4 separate regions of the Homo sapiens genome follow, and regions 2, 3 and 4 are each linked to region 1. Evidence: promoter capture Hi-C in human tissues and cell types (Jung and others, 2019). All regions are on one chromosome and are shown on one strand. Each heading gives the region's core, a stretch centred on a gene start or on the middle of the fragment in contact. The rest is flanking DNA. Distances are from core to core; before and after follow the strand shown.

The links. The method cuts DNA at HindIII sites, captures the fragments that hold promoters and counts their contacts. A contact is called where the count stands out against the background at its distance.
Region 2: a contact is called between a fragment that was not itself captured here and the fragment with the promoter of DCTD in region 1, in 1 of the 25 tissues and cell types used here (dorsolateral prefrontal cortex).
Region 3: a fragment that was not itself captured here is called in contact with the fragment with the promoter of DCTD in region 1 in 1 of the 25 tissues and cell types used here (dorsolateral prefrontal cortex).
Region 4: a contact is called between a fragment that was not itself captured here and the fragment with the promoter of DCTD in region 1, in 1 of the 25 tissues and cell types used here (H1 embryonic stem cells).

What each region holds. Positions count from the first base shown.
Region 1 is chr4:182,915,996-182,918,695 of GRCh38, forward strand. It overlaps DCTD (dCMP deaminase), which reads right to left and starts at 1,391. Exons shown (of 6, transcript NM_001921.3): 1 at 1,316-1,391. RefSeq lists a silencer at 1,023-1,732. The HindIII fragment of the contact is 4,495 bases long and covers 1-2,700 here.
Region 2 is chr4:181,598,154-181,600,909 of GRCh38, forward strand. It overlaps a transcript of TENM3 not described here. Among named protein-coding and RNA genes, the nearest start is that of TENM3-AS2, 230 kb to the right of the region's middle. The HindIII fragment of the contact is 3,906 bases long and covers 1-2,756 here.
Region 3 is chr4:181,669,440-181,672,231 of GRCh38, forward strand. It overlaps a transcript of TENM3 not described here. Among named protein-coding and RNA genes, the nearest start is that of TENM3-AS2, 160 kb to the right of the region's middle. The HindIII fragment of the contact is 6,092 bases long and covers 1-2,792 here.
Region 4 is chr4:181,265,195-181,267,894 of GRCh38, forward strand. No RefSeq gene overlaps it. Among named protein-coding and RNA genes, the nearest start is that of LINC02500, 1.5 kb to the left of the region's middle. The HindIII fragment of the contact is 6,307 bases long and covers 1-2,700 here.

The sequences.
Region 1 (2,700 bases), core at 141-2,640:
CCTTACTCCTAGCTAAGGTAGACAGTGCCATCCCATCTTACACAGACTCAGAGAACTTAGGTAACTTAACCTAAACCACACAGGATTATCATCCATGCCAGACGGATTCAAAGAAAACATCTGAAGCCTTCCCAACTCTGATATTAACCAGATAATTTTTCCCTTCCCTTTCTCCTCAATAATCCAGATGGGACAGAAGTTATCAACTCCGAGTAATGAATTACATGAGAAGAAACTATGAAAAACGTCAAGTGCTACTCCTAAAGCAAGGTTTTTGGAACGTAGTTTACCAGGGGCAAGCAGAGACTGTCTACGGCAGGGAGAGCCCACGAAGGGGGTCCTAGGACTTCAGGGGAGTGGTCGCTTTCAAAAGGAATGAAACAAGGGCAAGGAAGGAAGACAACACAAAAACGGGGTGGGTACCACGGAGAAATCTTGAGAAAGGCGAGGAATGTGGTCTAAAGGAAGGCAAGCATCTCCCAAAACTTCTGCTTCAGGCTCCACACTTTATTTAGGCATCTGCTACAGTGCAGGGCGGCAGTGCCTAAGACAAGGATGCAGTGGAGAGTGGGTGCTGGGAACCACGGTCACCCACTGATTACGCTGCCCCACATCTGAGAGGCCTGGCAACCCCCCTAACAGGAAAAGACAGGTGCTGAATCAGCCTGGTTTCCCACCTGGCTTTAGGGCCAGCATCCATCATCGCTGTGGGGTGCTGGAGAAGTACCTACTAAATAGGAGGGAGGGGGAGCCATGGGGGGCGAGGGAAGAGCAGGAGAGGGAAGGGTCCTGTTAATCCCCTGGGCGCCTTCTCCTGGTGTGGCTGAACGCCCACTAGAGCCCTGTGAGGACTGAGGCCCAGCTGTAGAAACAGAGAGAACTGGAGCTCGAATACAACGATTCAGGAAGACACATCCGGTCACCGTCCCAGGCACACCCCACGCCGCTCGCAACCCCGTCAGCTCTGATCCAGGGCCTACACCCGGCATTCCCAACCCACACACGGGCGCAGGAAGGGATGTGGTGTTCAGACGCCCAGCACCACCTCCCGGGGCACTCCAAGGGGCCCGGCCTCGCACAGGCCGCGGCGCCCGCCGAGAAATCGACCCTGGAGTGACTGCGGGGACCCCGAGCGCCCCCACCCCGCCCGCATTCTCCGATCTAAAGGCTGAGCGCGGCCGAGGCGCCCCCAGCGTCCGCGGCCCCAGGCCCCCGCCCGGCAGCCAGCGCCCCGCGCCACGCGCTCGGGACGGTGCCACGCGGCGGTGGCTAGGGGCGCGCGGGCCGCGTACCCGCACGGCTGGCCCCCGCCCACCATCCGGTGCCGGCTCCGCGCGCAGGCCGGTGCTCGTCCCCGCCGCCGCCGTGCTCAGGGAAGGAAGTCGGGGGAGGAGGCGGGGCCGCCGCGGGGCCGGAAGGGGGCAGCGGCCCGGGCGCCGCGCGTTCGCAGGACGGCGGCTGGCCCCGGGGGCCCGAAGCCCTGAGGGGAGGGAGGGAGGGACGGCGGGGGCGGGTCGCACGCCGCAAAGGCGCTGCTCCGCGTCGCCGTACGCCTCCCGGTCCCCGTGACGCAGCCCGCGGTCCGGCCGGCGGTGTTCAGAGCCCGAGCACAAACTACTTCCCGGGTGCCAGACCGCCCCGAGGTCGCCCCGCTGCCCGGGTCACGCGTGGCGCTGGGTGGCCGCGAGTTGGGCGCTCCCGGGCCTGACTGCACGACCGTCGGGGGCTGCTTGGTTTGGTGGTGGTGGCGGTGGTGAGGTTTTCCCCACCATCCGTGTTCCATCAACTGCTTAGAGACACGGCTATGGAGATTGTGATTAAAAGACGACCCCAAGAATCTAGTGCCGTGAAACTGGCGGGGCGGGAGGTGGGGAGACCTGGTTTGGGTCTCTGGAGTGAGCCCGCTGTGTCGCAGCGTCCCCGTGGGGACCCTTGGCCGGTGGCTGGGTCACAGTTTCACACACTGGATGGGGCAGGGAACTGGGTCCGGCGGGGGCGCTGTGCCTCGAGGCTCAGTGCCTCGAAGCTAGATTTGCATTTGGCTGCGCCTGACAGGCTTTCAGTTTCTGCTCAAATTGTGCGGAAGGGCCTGAGGTGTTTGCTAAAGCCTGCCGCGCCCTGCTCGACCCGTATCACCGCACAGGCACCCCACCTGCATGTTACCTCCTGGTAATGCTCGCCCACTTATATAGTGCACATTTTGTTGCAGTTGTTTCAAAGATGAGAAAAACAGGGCAATAGGAAAGACCATCAGTGACATTTCTGGAGTCGTATGCCCCAAGCAACTTAATCTGGTTTTCATGAACTTCGTTACCCTGTGCAGACGTCTAGCCCCTTACAGTGGTTCTAGCACAGAGAATGACAGAAGAACCCCTTTCTGTTTCATTCATGGGACTTGAGGGGACTGTCAGCACTCCATAAATAACAGCTACTGTAATAATCGCCAGTTCTGATCTGCACATCCCAGATTTGAACTGCTATTCCAAACAAAAGCTTGTTAACTATATTAATTTAGCCTAACGGAGGAAGAATGATGAGAGTAAACAGTTGGTTCTATCTAATTTCTCACTACAGCAGACACATCATTCTTCATCTCATGGTCCAGCTTGTAGATTCAATAATTAAATTATGTACTGCTCTTGGTGGATGCCGGGAAAGCAAAAGGGAGAAATACTTCATCGTTAACTATAGATTTTTTTT
Region 2 (2,756 bases), core at 223-2,722, 1.3 Mb before region 1:
ATTTGTAGTTCCATGATCTACTTTTTCTTCTACATTTCTCTTACTCCCTCTCTTCTCCGTTTACAACACAAAATTCAACAAACTGCTAACTCTAGCTATTAATATCCCATAGTATTTCTCTAAGCAGCTTCATAGTCACAGTTTCAGTTAAGGCTCTAGGGCTTTCATTCCTGAACTACGTGTACTACAGATCCCAGTTAAAATCTCTATCCTTCCCACAACAGTGGTTGACCACCTTCCTCAACATTGGATTTGGGGTGATAATGACAACATTCTGAACAAAGCTCATTTTTTCCCCTAACCCCCAGCTAAATAGAAGAAATGTTAATGTTACTCCTCTTTAGATTTTTTTAATTAAGAATATTTTTAAAGGATTTTTTTATGATTTAATGGGACACAATGAAAAGATATTTTGACAAAGGTAAACATCTGAAACTGAGGCAAAGAATTTTAGATGTTGCCTGTGTAACCATTATTCCATGATCAAAAGCCCAATGTTTAACATATCCTGATTTCATCATTAAACAAGCATAAGAAAAAAAAAAAAGAAAACCATAAAAGTGAAATAGATTACATCTTGTAATAATACAGCTATGAAATTCTGACCAGAATGAAAATATGAGTATGAAGAGAGTAATCATTTGCTTATTAATTCAAGGAACAATTTGCCATTTTTCAAGTATTATGAAAATAAGAGACTGTTGGACTCTTTTTAAACACGCAGGTTTTTCAAATGTATGTACAGTAATATTATAGCTCTGGTGAAAATTTTGATGAAAACAAAATTTTCTGTCTTCTTTTACTTACCTTGCCCTTTTCAAAAAATAGTGCTTAATGTTAACCAATGGACAGTCTAACTACCTGAAGCTTTTCATTCAGCTTTATTTTCTCAGCAACTATGGTTGAAACTGACAAGTTAGGTGAAAGGTTGTGTAAGTATCCAGGCAGGGGCAAAAATATCGAGTTATCCCCAAATACTAACAAGCACATAGGTAGAATATTTCTACCAAGTTAAAGAGAATAAAGGAACCACATTGAGCAGAGCTACCTTATTCAAGGACCTCATTATCTCAAGGCACCCCAATTGAATAAGTGTACCATTATTCCCTTCGTTCTGTGCAAACAGCAGACGTAGAGCACAAAGAGAGACGATTTCAGTGAATCACACTGTAATTATAAATGCCACATTAAAAAACGGAACAAAAGCAACAGCAGGACACTGTAACGTCGATGGTTAAGGAGGGCAAACAGAGAAACATTCTCAAAGGCCACAATAAATTACATGATCCAGTTCTTTGTTACAGGCAAATTATTGGACAATAAGAGAGACACTGAACACAACTTATCAGTGGTAAAGTAACTTGCACACATTCTCCTACCACTGAAATATTCCTGTTACCTACACAACTGCATTTGTATATACAAGCAAGAATTTTGATGCACTAAGTAATTAATATAGCTCTCTAGTATTTTTTTTACCTCTGTGCTTATTCTATCTGGGCAAGGTGTGGTAATAGCACCTTAAAAAATAAGATCAGATTTAGGAGTGAAGAACACTGCATTGGAAAAGGTAATTGCTAATTTTATTGTATTTTAATTATTTGACCATTTGTGCACAAAATTAAATAATACTTGCTTCATCTCTATATTTTACTCATCTATGACCTTCTTTTATTATTTATTCCTTTTTTACTTATTTATTACACAAATTTATTAACACTTGTGAATATATCTTACAAGCCCCAGACCTAGACAATTCGCAATAACTTACATTTACCGGTGAGTTCCTTCCCTGTATCCCAGACCAGAGAAACCCCTCCTCTGAATCGTGACTGTATCGCCCTCTTTCTTCTAACCCACATCCGTGTGTATGATTAACAATCAGATATTTTTAGTTTTGGTTATTTTCAGACTTATACAGCTAATGCTGCATGTAATCTCCTGTGATTTTCTTTTGTCACCAAATACTATATTGCTAAGATTAAGCTACATTGTTCCTTATTGTTGTGATTCAATCATTTTCACTGCTGTGTAATATACCATTGTGTGAATTCATCCATTCTTCTGGGGACACTTGGGTTGTTTCCAGGTTTTTGCTATTGCACAGAATGCTGTTTTGAACATTCTGATTGACACAGACCTACCTCTAAAATCTGAGGGCTCCAGAGCAAGAGGATAAATGGAGGCTCGCACATGGTTATCTCATACTAAGTGTTGTAAATCCTGCTGCAACCACTGCCCCAGTCCTCCTTATACCCAGAGACCCACAGCCTGTTCCTGGCCCTGGCACTTTTGAGAGAAGACTGGACCCTCCTGAACCCAAGTTCAGACTAAGTCAAGTTTTCCCGGAAGCCAAGGCAGGCAAACACTTTCCCTAGCTCCTTGCATTTCTGACTTGAAATTTTCACATAGTCCTAAGTACCTCTCAAAACTGCCTAAGGGAGGCAGTATGCATTTCCTGGGGACTCTGATTGCCTGGCCCTTGATGCTGGGGCTTCTGGGTGGGAGCCATTCTTTCTTTGATATCCCAGGGCCGTGGCTGCTCCCTGCTGCCGTAGACACACACCCACTCTCTCACATTCAGACAGGCATCCTTCGACTTGTGATGGTACCTGGTGAGTTCCTTGCCTGTCATTCTCATTAGCACCATTTTCCAATTTTCAAGAAAATGTCTTATAGTACCAAAAAGAAAAAAAAAAAACAAAGCTTGACTTAGTCTCAATTTGGGTTCAGGTGGGTCTGCTCTCCTCCCAGAA
Region 3 (2,792 bases), core at 248-2,747, 1.2 Mb before region 1:
CTTTTAAGGAAATACACAATATACCCCCATGTCATACAGCTTATGTGGGGCATTCTTTGTATAGAGCTTTACTAGATATAATGGAGAAGCTGAGTTAGGGTTCTTAGCAAGGAGGGTTTCTTCCCCTTCTTCCCTCCTCGGTAATTTCCCAGTGTTACCCCATTCTGACTTGAGAATCACTTTTGCTAGACCAGATACCCCCAGCGTATCAGCACAGAGGAACCTACAAGAACTGATTGCTTCTCTGCCCCCTTTCTAACTTGCAAACCTGGGATGTCTATCTAGTCCTGACACACCTGGCTGCCTGTTCAGTGGATTCATCTGACCTTGACTTTGGGGTCCACCGATGAAGCCCACTCTGTTTAAGAATGTTATGAGTGTGTTGAAATCCTTGTTCGATGGGACCTCTAGGGAGAACTTCGGTGTGTATCAGCCTGCTGAAACATTCCAGCACATCAGCAACAGGTTGAAAGCTGGTGTAGAAAGAATGTAAAAGATGGCTTTCTTAGCAGGCTATTAATAAAACACATCTTATGATTATTCCGTTAAAGGGCAGTTTACAATTTCTAATTTTAGCTATGAAATTTTATTTTCATAGATATACTTTTTATCTCCAAAAGTATATCTTAGCCAAGAAAAAATGTAGAAGATAAACAGCTTATAATTTGACTTCTAGAAATTGATCTGTACACTCAAGGTAAATGGATTGCAAGTATTGATTAATACTTTGGAATGAATACCATTTCATAATTTTTAATTAACCACTAGGTAATATTTAATGGAAACTGCATAGTGCCATAGATATGAATTTGAAAAATGAGGAGGTAAAAGGGTCCGTCCCTTAGTCCCATTGTGGTAAAAGTAATTGCCGAGAGTGACCGGTTTGTAACCGTGTTTTCTTCTCTGGTAATTCTAGGTTATTAATGTCCCAAAGCACAAAGTGATACTGCTGTATTAATTCTCTTGGCCTCGAAATGATCTACAGCACAATTTAAGAACCATGCATCTTGTCATCACTTAAAATTGTTTTTAACCCAATGAAAGATAGAAAAAAAGGCAGTGAATCTTGTGGAACTAGAGAAGAAATTCACCCATATATGTGATCTTTTGAAAATACTAGCAATATTAAGTAATACTAGTTTTGCTGTAGACACAAGGCACTGAAGTTAAGAGGGAAAAAATGTGTACTTGGTTGTAGGGCATTCAACACTGTAGGTATTACATCAGCAAGTAGCATTTGGGTAGAAATGGAAACAATGAAGGTACAGTCTTCACATAGTGAACTATTAGAAGTACTGTGTCTGTCGCAGGAGGAACCCAGAATTTAAATGAACCATTTATGACTCAGCTGCCCTAGGGCAAGCACAAGATTCATTAATAATGCAGTGTTTATTTGAAATATTTTATTATAACGCACATTTATTACAAAAAAATCTAAACAGCAGAAAAAAGCCAGCATTGCACAGGTTCGGCATTCTGGACAAGTTATTTTCAAAATGGGATTCTTGGCAAATTATATCATTTCTTTCAATACTTCACCTGTGACACTATAAAGAATACATATTTATTTAAGTAGTGGCATTATACACTGCTGCTTGTGTTGTACATAATTTATAGAAAATGATCTACCAACATGGATAGGTAATGTTCCCCGTGAAAGTAAACGGTTAGAATTAGAAAGTGATGAAGAGCTCTGAGAGTTGCCTAATATGAGGTGGAGTAAATTAGACTCCTTAACAAGTGAGTTCATGTTTTCCAAAAATTATGGTCAACTTACCTCCTATTATAAATATGAGAGCAATTATTGCTAAAGTTTGTCATGAATAAATTGACCCATATATTAAATACACATAAAGTAATATGAGAACGCTGTTATATTTACTCCTACAGGAGTAAATATCTGTACCAGCTGTATTTACTGTCGCAGAGTACTGCAGAAAGTTTCAGATCATCTGGATCTCTCTGCAGTAAATGGGCAGAGTGTGATCTTGAGAGCAAACATACCTAAATAACTCCTGGCTTAGCCTCTTAATACTCGTATGATTTAGGGCAAGTTTGTTCACCTGTCTGAGTTTCTGTTTTTTCACTTGAACAATAATACCTGCCTCACAGAGTCAGTAGCAGAATGAAATAAGAGAAACCATGTAAAGCACCTTAGCACTTGGTGCTCGACGTACATTATTTCATTTCCTGCTGTGGCTCTTTATGTCCAAGCAGCGTACAATAATTATTGCATAGCAGGTTAGTACCCAGTTAATTGCCTACTTTTCCCATCCAGCTGGTTATTCCTAGGAAGCAAACTTTACTTTTTTTTTTTTATCTTTGCATTTCCTGCCATGAGCAAAGGGCTTGGCACCTGGTAGCTCTGGTTCATACATTAACATGATTCCTTCTGATGCGCTCCAGTGTCTCAGACAGGGACAGTCATCAGCCTGGCCCAGGGACGCATTTCTTACTTGTCTCTGGCTCATGGGATAGATTGTATCTCAAGACTGACTAGGAATAGGATTATTCCCTGCTTTTGTTTTTCCTGATAAAAAGATAACATCTCTTGAAATTTAGACTGCAAAATTCCAAAATATATACTTTGGATAGCACCTTAAAATCTTTGCCCCTCTACAGAGGTCAATAACCACGTTTGCACCTGCAGAAGAATATACTGCAAATATGTACTATCATGATAAAAACGCTGTGATAGTCTGTCCAGATGACTCTGTAATGTAGTAAAACTGCCACAAGGCTCCAGTGTCCCATCTTGTGCAGATCTTTGCCCCTCTTTGAGCTTCACTTCT
Region 4 (2,700 bases), core at 89-2,588, 1.7 Mb before region 1:
GATGGGGGAAGACTTCACCTGCCTGATATTTGTGTGTCTGTAGACCATTAGTGGATAAGTAAAAGATAATGACGTATAACCAAAAACATTTTAATGAGAGTAAAACAATGCATGAGAAATCAGAGCAGTAGGTCTGCCCAGTTTGCTAAAACAGCCCCTTCGTAAAAAATATATCATGTTACTTGATTTACCCGAACCCAAGTGCCTAGGCATAACTTATTTCAGCAGTGCCTGCCGTTTAATAGAATACAAGATAAATTTTTGCATTTCTTCAAACTGTTGTATTTCCTACTTTTAGCCTGATGGTTGGGTTAGATCTAGTTTTTAAAGTGGGGAGAAGAGTATGGCCGGGAGTTACAGCAGGTGCTTTAAGGAGATGGCAAACATTTCAGGATCAGTGTGGTATTAGAAATAGCTCTGCAGTAGGAAAGCTGCAGAAGTCTTGCAATCTTGCTGTAATCAGAAGGCAGTGCGAGTGCTGAGATCATTTTATTACAGAAAGAATGAGATGTGGGAAGGAAGAGAAAATACATATCTATGTTCTTAATCTTAGTATATTGACTTATATTTTGTTTCTCTATTTTTCTCATAAGAATCTTTTTTTTTTCCTAAAAGACATTGTTGCAGAATACTTTATCTCAAAACCATCACTGCATCATTATAAATGTATTGTTTAGGAGGATTTCAAGGTCTTCCAGATATGAATGAAAAATCATTTATTAGCAGATAAAGTTACTAATTGAATGAGAGGTAACCACGGTCGCAATTGCACATTGTTTTAACAGTTGTCCCGAGAAGACACTTCCAGACTGATAGGCCTCAAAGAAAAATATGTGTTGTATTCTACAAATATTAATAATCTAGACACAAGTGTTAGAGATGAAACTTAGGGAAAAACAATACAATTCATGGCTTCAGTGTTTTTAATATCTAATGGGGGAAATAGTACTCATAGGATTTATATAGTATTTTTTTTTATTTTGGCTATACAATTTGCACACTGTGAGTCATGCAAGCTCAATACCGTGTGTTCAGAATGAGAAACTTGTCTTGTTTCATTTTTGTATGTTCCCAGTGCAAGGTAAGTTTCTTATACATTTAAGTGCACATAAAATATTTATTGAGCTGAAATAAAAACTATATTTTGCTACTCAAAAGTAACCAAATGATCATCATCACAAAGAAATGCATAAAAAGCAGGCTGATGAGAGGATAGTGAAACAGCCATTCTTACTGTCATATATCTTTTTTTCTTTCTTTTAAAAACTGTAGAGTAAGTAGAATTGAGGTAGCTGGTTCTTTGTGTTAGTTATGAGGCTTCTACTTGTGAGTATAATAAAGGTGATCCTAATAGTTAGTGGAACTATGGTAATTTGTTGGATCTCATAGAGTCTATGGGTAGCAGCTTCAGGCCTAGTTGGATCTAGCTGTTGAAACAATACTGTCAGGGATTCCCGTACAGTTCTCGAATCTGCTTTCCTCTCCTTTGGCTTTTTTTCTGACACTGTCTTTTCTCTTACTGACAAGTTGAACTTCAGAAACTTCAGGCTTACATCCTAAGTACATATCTAATGATAAGGAAATCTGGCAAAAAGGAGTACATATTTCCATAGTTTCACCCACAACATCTGGGCTGACACTTAGAGATTCTGATTGACCTCTCTTGTATCATAAGCATTTTCTGAGTCAGTTTCTGGAGCTGGAAGAAGTTGGCCACCCTGATTGACCAGACCTGGGTCACATTTCAGAATGAGGAATGCTCAACTCCCAAAGGAAAGGTAAAATGCTTCTAAGAGTTGTTGGAGAAATGGTTATTGGGCAGACAAAAAGAGTCTTATGTAGGGTAAGAACTTAAGTGTTCATTAAGCTGAAGTATAAGATCACTTAAGTATCTTGGCAGACAGAACACCAAGAAGACATGTTAGCCTACAAATAGACACTTTGGAAAATTTAGTCACAAATCGTTATGGTGTTCATTTTGGGATAAGGAGTATTTTCTAATATACGAGGAAAATTTTTAATATAAAGATATGGGAAGTAAAGTTTTATTCCTGTGTGAGTCACTACTTCCTTCAGAGTTTTTCTTTTTTACCCAAATGGTATTTTATCAATGAGGCCTTTCCTAACTACTCTCTGTAAAATAAACCATGCCTTACAAGCCCTTCATGACAGCCCCAGCACTTTCTATGCCCTTTATCTTGCTTTATTATTTTTACATATTTTATTACCATTAGGCATCTCATGTATTGACTTATACATCCTATACATTTATTGATTATCTGTCTTTCCTTATTAAAATATAAGTTCCATGAAAAATTTATTTACTTCTCACTGTTCATCAAGGTGACCAGTGTTTATTCGTTGAATAATAAATATTTGGGGAGTGGATATGTGAATGAATGAATGAATGAATGAGATGTTTTAAGTGGTCAAATTAGATTTTCAAAAGCCTAAGGAAATTCAGTTCTGTGTGAATAGATATAATTATTTCATTGATTATGAGTTTTTAAAATAATAACACATAGAATGAAATTTAAATACATATACTTCTTAAATGTAAGGGAAAATAATACAGAACACCTGAATTGGCTTTAATTTATCCAATTGTGTTTATTGCTGTAAACCTAAGTTACTAGGTTTTGGTCAGGCTGGAGATTATACTGATATTACTTGCGCTATAAATTATGTTGCTATTTATAT